Regions from separate parts of the Homo sapiens genome. Here regions 2 and 3 are each linked to region 1. The links are contacts of gene promoters, found by promoter capture Hi-C in blood cells and fetal thymus (Javierre and others, 2016). All regions are on one chromosome and are shown on one strand. The core of a region is centred on a gene start or on the middle of the fragment in contact, and the rest is flanking DNA. Distances in the headings are between cores, read along the strand shown. Region 1 holds the start of ZNF527 (zinc finger protein 527). Region 2 holds the start of ZIK1 (zinc finger protein interacting with K protein 1). Region 3 overlaps LOC124904781 (a long non-coding RNA gene).

Region 1 (3,543 bases), core at 451-2,950:
ATTAAAAGCATCTTAATTGAAATTCCCAAATTCGTATCTCTAGTACCAACATTTCACTGAGCTCCACACACATATATCTAAATGCCTACTTGATATCACTCTTTTGAAATCCAACAAGCATCTGCGACTTAACATGATACCTCACCACCCACCCCATCCTAGATAACTGCCACATACTCATTTTCCCCTATCTTAGTAAATAACACTACCATTTTTCCAGGGGCTCAAGACATTTAGGCATTATATTGAACTTCTCTCTTTCCCTATATTCACAACCAAGCATCAGCAACTTCTGTTAGTTCTACACTCAAACTGTATCCCAATCTGACAATTTCTCATTGCCTCTTCCAGTGATGACCCTAATTCAAACCACCATCATCATAAGACCATTGGTCTCCAAAATAGTTTATACATAAATGAGCCTGTCATTGACATGTAGAGACCTGGGTCAACAGTACAGATGGAGGTCCCCAGCCAGTCCCCTTCTGTTCCCACTGCCATCCTTGTCCCACATCGTAAGAGGTCTTCTATTCCCACATGTGGACACTCCAGCTTGCATATCTAAGCTCTGTCTAGCCTTACCAAATTGCTCTCATTTGGCCACATTTTGTGGATAGGCAGCACATTCCACCTTTGGAAGACAGATCAAGGGAAGGGTCTTTGGACACAGAGGAGATACAGGCTCTGGAAGCAGGCTGGAGTCCATTTGAACAGGAAATCCTGGGGATTTGGATACCCAGAGCATGGTCTGAAAGAAGGTTGTGAGATCTTTGCAGGCATGTTTCTGCCTATGGACTTTCACCAGGAAGGAAACTGCTTGACTAGAGGAGGGCCAAAGTGTGGCCTTTTGTATGTTTAATAATATTAAAATGTTAAATATATTATTTTGACCAATTGAGAAATAATAATAATAATAAAATAGGCCGGGTGCGATGGCTCATGCCTGTAACCCCAGCACTTGGGGAGGCCGAGGCAGGTGGATCACAAGTTCAGGAGATGAAGACCATCCTGGCCAACATGGTGAAACCCCATCCCTACTAAAAATACAAAAATTAGCTGGGCGTGGTGGCAGGTGCCTGTAATCCCAGCTCCTCAGGAGGCTGAGGCAAGAGAATCGCTTGAACCCGGGAGGCGGAGGTTGCAGTGAGCGCCGAGATTGCCTCAATAAAAGATACCACAGACCCCGCCCATGGCAGGAGATGGGGGTGAAGGAACAGTAAGACCAGGAGACAGTCAGATACACATCGGATCAGTGGTATCCTCACAGTAACAGAAACGGTCACCCCCAATGTCAGCCACAGTCTCTTTCATCCACAATCACTTTCACATTCAGCTACCCACAATCACGGGACGTGATTTAAAATACAGAAGCTCCCTGCACTGACAAAATCCGCCGCTCCTTTCGTCGGCAAGCATAAAGGTGTGCAGCAACAGTCACACACGAACCACCACACCCAAGCATTCAACCAGTCAGCCCCGCGCGCAGCCTGGCCGCTTTCCCCAACACAGCAGCTCAAGGTCACTGGAGAGCCTACGACCGCACACAGCCCTCTCCGGTACCTGCCCCCGTGGCGCAGGCGCGCAGTGGAGGGGGCCGCGGGGTTCTCTGGGAGATGTAGTTCAACGATGACGGCCGTGGCGCAAAGCGTTCTGGGGCTCGTGGTTCGCGGGGTCCATGGGGAACGCGGTGTCGCTGGTTCAGATCTCGCAGAGCTCAGAGTCCTGCATGCCTCAGTCCTCGCCTCGCTCCTCCTCGCGGAGGATTCTGGGAGGTGACGTCGCGGGTCTCGGTCGCGGGGCCCGTTTGCAGAGCCCGCGGCGCCGGGAGGTGAGTGGGGCCGGGCCCCGGGCGGGAGCGGGAAGTCAAGGGCGGGCTCCGGGTGGCCCGGCCGCGCCAGGGATGGGAACCCGGCAGGAGTCGCTGGGGAGGCCGTGTGTGTTTCACTGTATTACCAACTATGTGACAGGCTGCGGGTGTGACAGAATGTGATCTTGTGTCACTGTGTGTGTGTGTTTGTGCGCGTGCGCCCGCTTGTGTGTGACTGTAACCATCTGTGTCTGGGGGTGAAACTGTGAATATGTGTGTTTGTGTGTGACTGTCTCTGCAGGTGTAGCTGTGTATGTGTTTATGAGAGACTGGGGTGTGACATTGTGTGTTTGTGTAAATGCATGTGTGTGGTTATGTGACCACCTGTTTCTGCGGATACAATTGCGTTTGAATGTGTGTGACAGCAAGTGTGATTGTGCGACTATGACCATCTGTCTCCGCAGGTATAGTTTTGTATCAGTAATTGTGACAAGATGTGTGACTTCTGTGGTATGCTACTTTGTGTGTGATTGTGTGTGATTGTTTATCTCTGTTGGTGTAGTTGTATGTTACCATCTATCTTTGTGCTTATGTGGCTGTGTATTGTGTGAGATTATGGGTGTGTTTGTGTGACTCTATACATTTGTGATTGGGTGAGAATTTGTGTGTATATATGAGATTGTGGGATTGATGTATGAAGCACAGAAATATTAGAATTACCCAAGTTCACACAGTTAACAAGTGACAGCACCAGAACTCAAACCCAAGCAGTTTAGCTCTAGAGGTCTCGCTTTTTTTTTTTTTTTTCTCTTGAGATGGAGTCTCACTCTATTGCCCAGGCTGGAGTGCAATGATGCGATCTCGGCTCACTGCAACCTCCGCCTCCCAGGTTCAAGTGATTCTCCTGCCTCAGCCTCCCAAGTAGCTGGGATTACAGGCGCGCACCACCACGCCCAGCTAGTTTTTGTATTTTTAGTAGAGACGAGGTTTCACCATGTTTGGCCAGGCTGGTCTCCAACTCCTGACCTCATGATCCGCCCACCAGAGCCTCCCACAGTGCTGGGATTACAGGCGTGAGGCGCTGCGCCCTGCTGCAGTTTTTATGGACAATTTCAAGCTGCACTACACTAAGGAAATAACTGCTAGGGACTGAGTTGCCTAGTGCAAAGTAGTCCAGAATTAGGGGGTGAAATTAGGGGGTGATGTATACTGAATTCTAGGTCAACCACAGTTGTCCCTTTCTTTTCTTTTCTTTTCTTTTCTTTTTTTTTTTTTTTTTTTTTTTGAGACAGAGTCTTGCTCTGTCCTGTAGGCTAGAGTGCAGTGGTGCAATCTCGGCTCACAGCACCCTCTACCTCCTGGGTTCAATCAAGCCTCCCACCTCAGCCTCCCAAGTAGCTGGGACTACAGACACATGCCACCACGCCCAACTAATTCTTGTACTTTTTGAGGAGATGGGGTTTTGCCATGTTGCCCAGGCTGGTCTTGAATTCCTAGTCTCAAGTGATTTGCCCACCTTGACCTCCCAAAGTGCTGGGATTACTGGTGTGAGCCACTGTGCCCAGCCTGTCTCTATTTTTACAATGAAGAAATGTTGGCTCTAAGAGGACAAGGAACTTACTTCAGATTGCCCAGTTTGTTGTTGCTTTAGTATTAAAATTTGGCGATGTTTCCCTCAGGCTGCATTTCTGTAGAGAAATAAAGGTAACACCTGCCATCTCTAAAGATGCCTCTCT
Region 2 (3,543 bases), core at 684-3,183, about 20 Mb after region 1:
CGTGTCACCTAGAGGGTGCCAGTGTTAATAAGGAAAAGGGTTGCTGTCCGACGCACACAGAAGCCAATGCCATGGCACCAGGTTTTTGAGAAAAGCAAACCTTTATTGCAAGTCGACAAACAAGAAGACAGGAGTCCAGCTCAAATCTGTCTCCCCAATATGGGGTTTGGGGCAGCTTTTAAGGATTAGGAAGGACAGGTTGGTAAGCACTGGAAGGGTGGATTTTGATTGGAAGGACTTCAAACAAATCTATTGATGGCAAGGCGGGGATGGGGTTGTTATCACCCAACATTCAGAGACAACAGACCCCTTGCTTTCGGAAGTGTTTCAGCACTTGGGTTCCAGCCATAGCCTGATATTTTGGTTTCCTGTGGTGACAGGGTGGAGTCTGGTAGGTGAGACTTCAGCTCCGAGTGTTGGGTCAATGTTTTCTTTTCTCTTTTCTTTTTATTTATTTATTTATTTACTTATTTATTTATTGAGACAGGGTCTGGCTCCGTTGCCCAGGCTGGAGTGCAGTGGCATAATCATAACTCACTGTAACCGTGATCTCCTGGGCTCAAGCGATACTCCCACCTCAGCATCCTGAGTAGCTAGGATTACAGGTGCACCACCATACTCGGGTAATTTTTTAGTTTTTGTAGAGACGGGGTCTGGCTATGTTGCCCAAGTGGTCCTTCCACCTCAGCCTCCCAATGTGCTTGGATTACAGGTGTGAGCCACCGCGCTGGGCCTGACATTTTCTTTTCTGCACATTCTCTAGCTGTGTAACTTGCAACTCTTTAGCTCTGTGCCTGCAAAATAACTGGACATTATGTTACCAACAGAGGATGGCCAGATGAGACTGGTCCAGTGGTTAAACCTGCACCTTCATGGAGGCCATTATGAGTATCCCTACAGGCCGAGTCTCAGGGTGCCCCCAGAAGCCCATACCAGCCGCTGTAAGGCAGAGCATGGACTTCCCCTCGGGGACTAAATCCCATTCTTGGGCTCCAGAGGCCTTGTTCCTACCACTGTACGCCACCGCTTGGGGTGCCCTGGGAACCCGCCTACCTCCCTACTGCCCTGAGGGCGGTTGGAGATGGTCCCAGCAGGTGTGGGAGATGAGGTAGGAGACGTCTTCAACGGGGTCCAAGGCTCATCTGGACCCAGTTCTCAGCCGAGGGGCGGTGGAGAGGGCGTCAGAAAACGCAGGAACGGCTCCTAGACCCAGGAGGGGACTCAGGGAAGCAGAGGCGCTTTCCTCGGCGGCTCTGGGGCCTTCCCAGCTCGCCCGGCCCCCCTGGAGGAGACGTCCCCCGGGGTGGAGCTACGGAGAACCCCTTCCCATGGGACGTCTCGGCCCCGCCTCCCGCCTCTGGGTACAGTCAAAGGGCTCAGGTCAGAGCAGGAGCAGCCGGGGGCGCGGCCCCCACGTGGCCTCCCGGGACACGTGCCCACAGCGCGACACCTAAGTCGCTCCTTTCACAGAATAGCCTTGGCCCCGGCACGGCCTCGAACGCCTTGACCCCGCAAGGGAGGGGCACGAGGCTCCTTTGCTCCCGCAGGAGCGTCGAATACGTATGGAATACGCGTCGGTGTGGATCTGGCCTCAGCTTCCTGAGCCTGAATCAATGCTTCTAATCACGTGGGCGCTCAGCCGCGACGGGACCACAGAAATCGACCAGCGGCCTGTTTAAGGAGCGACAAGGCCCAGCCCTCTCCTGCATTGTGGCGACGCCATTTCCCTGCGCCCCCAGCGCGGCCGCTTGGCTTTTGTTTGAGGTGACGCTGGGCGGCAGCATCCTTCCCTCAGCCCTGGGGACCAGCGGGGACTACAGAACCCAGAAGGTTTTGTCTCCAGCCGCAGGGATGCTGAGCCAATCCGCGCTGAGAAAAGGGTCGTTTCCGCTTTGGGACCAATGGGTCGGGGAGGGACTTCCGGTATCACTTCAGTGGCGGTCATTTTTGCAGCGCTTGGGTGCATCCAGACCGTCAGAGCTTTGGGAGCGCTTTGTTTGGCGACAGTCGGAAGGCGCGAGGGGAGGGGTCCTCCCGCTGAACAGTGGGGGTTCTAAGGGTCGGCGGCGGCGGGGTTGACGGCTTTGCCTAGGTCCCTCCGCCCGTAGCTGTCGGGTCCCGGCCCCGCTCTGCCCACAGACTCCGATGGCTGCGGCCGCGCTGAGGGCCCCGACTCAGGTGAGCGCTGCCTCTACTGGGCCTCACCCTCCATCCCCAAATTAGTGCCTTCTTGGGTCACTACGGTCGAGATCCTCATGTCCAGTACAGTGGGGGCTCGTGGGTGGGGTCCCTATTTCCAGAACTTGGGTGATGGGGCACGGAAGAGGGTTACAGGCAAAGGGACCAGCGTTTCTAAACTCTTGGAGACACAGTGAAGAAGGTTCATACCTGGAGTGCCAAGGTGAGGAGTTTTCCCTCAATTCTTAGGATGCTAGGAGCCGTGGAGGGTTGTGTACAGAAGCGGCATATGGTCTGAGTTAGGTCTTTCGAAGTTTTCCAAAAACCTCATGGAGTTAGACTAGAATAGAATGGAATAACACAGAGGCACAGGGAGGTTGAGTTCTTGTGCAAGGTCCCACAGTTGCTAAGAGTTGGCACTGAGGACTGGAACGCTGAGGCTCAGAAATAATGCAGGCATCCTCAGTCCACCTGGCTCTGGCCTGGACAGGAATCCAGGGAAGCCTGAATCCGTAGAGCCCTGTATGGTCACCTGCCTTTCATGATCTTTGGCTTTCCACAGGTTACTGTGTCTCCAGAAACACATATGGACCTCACAAAGGTGAGTGGAGGGTGTCCCAGGCCCTCACTGGTCCTGGCCCCATCCTGGGGTTTTTTCATGGATCTTTTTGCCACCATCCAGTTCTTTGACCTAAGGACTCTTCACAAACTGGAAGCTTGACATCCTGATTCTAGACTGGTGGTTATTTGTAGACGTTCTTATTGCTGGCAGACAATGGAATGAGGTGTGAAAGGTTGCCCCGCCTACGTACAATAATGTGTAAGGTTGGCAGTGAAGCTGAGCTGATTCAGGGAAACACAACTCTCCTTTCTTTCTCATGGGAACTCAGAGCAGCAGGGCAGGACTCAGGCCTGGAATGGCTCTGAGAAATTGGGTGTTTTTTCTGGAGGTGATGAGAACAATGGGAGGTTTAGAGAAGAGAACGGAGGTTATCTGACACTGGTCTCATCAGGTTCACTGTTAATGCAGCATAGAGAATACTCTGTGGGTGTGATGGAGGCGATAGAAAGACCAGGGAGGAGGCTACTGCAGTGGCCAAGGTGAGTTTTGATAGTGGCTTCACCAGTGTGGTGGCTGTGAAGGTAGAAGAAGTGGCTGGATTCTGGGTCAGAATTTTAATTAGGCCTGCTTGCATTTTCAGATTTTGAGGGTAAGAGATACTGGTCAAGCATTACTCCAGGCATTTTGAATTTAGCATCTGGAAGGATGGAATCTCCATCAAATAGCATGTTATAGGATTGATTTTATTTTTATTTTATTTATTTATTTGTCTATTTTTAGACAGTCTCACTCTGTCACTCAGG
Region 3 (3,543 bases), core at 364-2,863, about 20 Mb after region 1:
TGTTTTTCAGTTATCAGAAACCTGCATTTAGGAATACCTGTTAAAGTATTCCTACATCTGATTATGAACCATATTTTGAAGAGGATTAAAACAAGACAACAATTGTCTGTAAATGACAAAATGTCCAGGGTGGTTAGTCAAAAACATGATTGACAAAAAAAATTTGGTTATCTCCGTGGTTTACAATAACAACATAACAACCTTAATTGTGGTTGATAGTGTATACTTTCACATTAGAGTTTTCTAAATCCCATGCAGTTTTGGAACACATATTAATAGTATTTGCTGAAATATAACCTGAAGAAGATTAGACATCATTTTGGCAATCCCATGTAACAAAACATGTCAAATAATCCTGCTTGCCTCTTTTCTGGATGCCCCAGGGACCCTCTGTAGCATCCAAAACGTAGGTGTCAAGAAAGACAATTGATTTGTGGAAGCCTGTTAAATATGTTAACAGGCTTAAAATATTTGATGTTATGTACTAGAATTCCAGATTACTATAAGTTATTTATTTTGCCAAAATGATGACTCAAAAATTTGAAAAAGCAAAAACCTTTCATTAGCCTTTACTATTACATGAAAATTGTGTTCAAGAGAGAGAAAGCCAAATTTCACCCTTACATTAGTGTACTATTAATGTCAACCACAATTTTTAATGAAACAATTATAGGCAATTCTATCCAATCTTAACCAGTTTGACAATGAGGTGAGATTTTCACAAACCTTTTATAACCCTTTACAAATTTTGCTAAAGAGTAGATTCATGCATTAAGAGTTCTTTGTTGTGCTTTTATTTCAATGCTCAATTTACAGAAAACCACATAATACCCTTTTGAATGTAGTCAATATATTCACACAGAGTTTCCTTTGCAAGATTAATTCTTACAATTTTTTCCCCAGTTTGCTTAAACCTTCAGTTGTATTTTATCTACTTTAAGACAATTCTTTATCCCTAGGCAAAACGTACATTGCCATGCCTTCTTATAATTTTTTACAAAAAACACATTTTACTGTTTTTACACACATTGCATGTAAATCTATTCAGTAGTCTCAATTACATGTCATAATGGTAACTCTTAGCAATTTTTTTTTTAAGATGGAATCTTGCTCTGTCACCCAAGCTGGAGTGCAGTAGCACAGTCTTGGTTCACCGCAACCACCACCTCCCAGGTTCAAGCGATTCTCCTGCCTCAGCCTCCCAAGTAGCTGGGACTACAGGCACATGCCACCATGCCAGGCTGATTTTTTGTATTTTTAGTAGAGATGGGGTTTCACCGCATTAGCCAGGATGGTCTCAATCTCCTGACCTCGTGATCTGTCCGCCTCAGCTTCCCAAAGTGCTAGGATTACATGTGTGAGCTACCACGCCTGGCCCTACCTCTTAGCAATTTTTAACTTTAGTGTAAAACCTGGTAAGTTGTTTTAATTATTTGCTGGGTGCAGATAAAGTTTAACTCCTTCCAGAATAAGTTAGGGGCTTGGTTACTTCCATATGTTCCCAGACTTTACCCATTGTGAAGCAGGCAAGTTGAACAGTTCTTAAAGGCCAAAGGAGCAGTACAACCTTAAAACATTTAGCAAACCTACCATCTGACCTGCATAATTTAGACCACATATTTACATCTTGAGTACATTTGTATTTTACCAATAATCCCTAAGACTGTTTTATTTTTAAAGATTAAAGTCACATGAACTAAGAGAAATTACAGTTTTTACTATTCTTTCAAAAAAGATTTGATCGGCCAGGCGCAGTGGCTCACACCTGTAATCCCAACACTTTGGGAGGCTGAGGTGGGTGGATCATAAGGTCAGGATATTGAGACCATCTTGGCCAACATGGTGAAACCCCATCTCTACTAAAATACAAAAAATTAGCCAGGCATGGTGGCACGTGCCTGTAATCCCAGCTACTTGGGAGGCTGAGGCAGAGCAATTGCTTAAACCTGGGAGGCGGAGGTTGCAGTGAGCCAAGATCGCACTACTGCACTCCAGCCTGGTGACAGAGCAAGACTCAGTCTGGGAAAAAAAGAATTTTATTTGATCTAAGTGCTTATAGGCCAATCAATTACAGCTCTTTTTTATAGACATCACACAACACATATATGACTACACAGACAGAAGAAGATCCAGCAGCTCAGGGTGGAGCCCTTTAAGAATAAGGCTACAAAAGCATGCAGTTTCTGGGGCCTAATAAACAGGCATAGCTCGAAGGCCAAAACAGATTTTGAGAGGGATTTATCCATCTCTAATTCTTGGGGTTCCATGAGGAAAACAGATTTCCCCCAAATTGAATCTGTGGCACCTTGTCTGTTTTCTCAAGGAGTCCAAGGCCACCAGAAGTCATCCTTGAGCCTTTCATGCATGCACCAAGATTGGCAAGACAGAGTGGAGAAAAGTAATTCAGTTGACTGAGATACAAACCTTTTCCAGAAAAACAAGATCTAAGAAGAGAAAAACATAAAGGCGTTTCAAGGACACCTATAACTTGGGTATCCACTTTTAATTAAGCTGAGTGCTCTTTCATAAAATTCTTCTTTACTAATTAAAACTTTACAGATAATATAAACAATGATCCTTATCTTTTTTTTTTTTTTACTGGTTTGCATCACTCTTTGTTCACAATCATGTTCAGGTTCTCCAGTTTACTTTTGGGGAAAGTGGCTGGATTCAGGCAAGGACAGGTTTTTAACTGGACTGTAGATCCCTCTAACAGCAAGCCCTGATATTTGAAGAGGCAATTGTCTGTTAGCCAGAGACTTCCCTTAGAGGATAGCAGTCCTGCTATATTATGTGGGGTCTAAACAGTTATTTTCCGGCTGGGTGCGGTGGCTCATGCCTGTAATCCCAGCACTTTGGGAGGCTGAGGTGGGTGGATCAAAAGGTCAAGAGATCAAGACTATCCTGGTCAACATAGTGAAACCCCATCTCTACTAAAAATACAAAAGTTAGCAGGGCATGGTGGTGCACACCTGTAGTGCCGGCTACTCAGGAGGCTGAGGCAGAAGAATTGCTTGAACCCAGGAGGCAGAGGTTGCAATGAGCCGAGATCACGCCATTGCACTCCAGCCTGGTGACAGAACGAGACTCTGTCTCAAACAAACAAAAAACAAACAAACAGTTATTTCCCATTATTAACTTGGTGGCCTCTGGCACGAGCAAAGCCACCAATGCAACTTCTTGGAGGAAGGCTGGCCATCCTTTAACCACCAAGTCAAGTTCCTTGCTTAGGTAACCCACTGGCTGTTGAGCTGGACCTCGAGCCTTTGTTAAAATTCCCTGGGCCGTTTCCTTTCTTTCTGATACATAGAGATTAAATGTGTTCCCTATGAGAAGACTGAGGGCTGGTGTTTTAAGTAATGCTTGTTTTAACTGGTTAAGGCTTTTGAGTTTTAAGATTCCAAGTATTAGTTGCTTGAGTTTCTTTTATGAGGTGGTATAAAGGGTGAGGTATTTCACCATATCCAGGTACCCACAGTCTGCAAAATTCAGTAATTCCTAAGAATCCCCTTAACTGTTAAAGGAAATGGGCTTAATCCTTTC

The links. Contacts are between HindIII fragments. The CHiCAGO score rates a contact against its expected background, and 5 or more counts as called.
Region 2: the fragment with the promoter of ZIK1 here is called in contact with the fragment with the promoter of ZNF527 in region 1 in 6 of 17 cell types (monocytes, non-activated CD4 T cells, naive CD4 T cells and 3 more); the score reaches 22.9 in monocytes.
Region 3: a fragment that was not itself captured here is called in contact with the fragment with the promoter of ZNF527 in region 1 in 1 of 17 cell types (monocytes); the score reaches 6.8 in monocytes.

What each region holds. Positions count from the first base shown.
Region 1 is chr19:37,369,399-37,372,941 of GRCh38, forward strand. ZNF527 (zinc finger protein 527) reads left to right here and starts at 1,701. Exons shown (of 5, transcript NM_032453.2): 1 at 1,701-1,828. RefSeq lists enhancers at 1,071-1,210, 1,231-1,280, 1,451-1,760 and a silencer at 1,791-2,100. The HindIII fragment of the contact is 7,295 bases long and covers 1-3,543 here.
Region 2 is chr19:57,582,212-57,585,754 of GRCh38, forward strand. It overlaps ZIK1 (zinc finger protein interacting with K protein 1), which reads left to right and starts at 1,934. Exons shown (of 4, transcript NM_001010879.4): 1 at 1,934-2,178; 2 at 2,741-2,779. The coding sequence starts at 2,146. RefSeq lists enhancers at 1,443-1,974, 1,671-1,770. The HindIII fragment of the contact is 4,281 bases long and covers 1-2,892 here.
Region 3 is chr19:57,561,541-57,565,083 of GRCh38, forward strand. LOC124904781 (a long non-coding RNA gene) reads left to right here. Exons shown (of 2, transcript XR_007067357.1): 2 at 2,324-2,569. Among named protein-coding and RNA genes, the nearest start is that of ZNF550, 3.4 kb to the left of the region's middle. The HindIII fragment of the contact is 5,328 bases long and covers 1-3,543 here.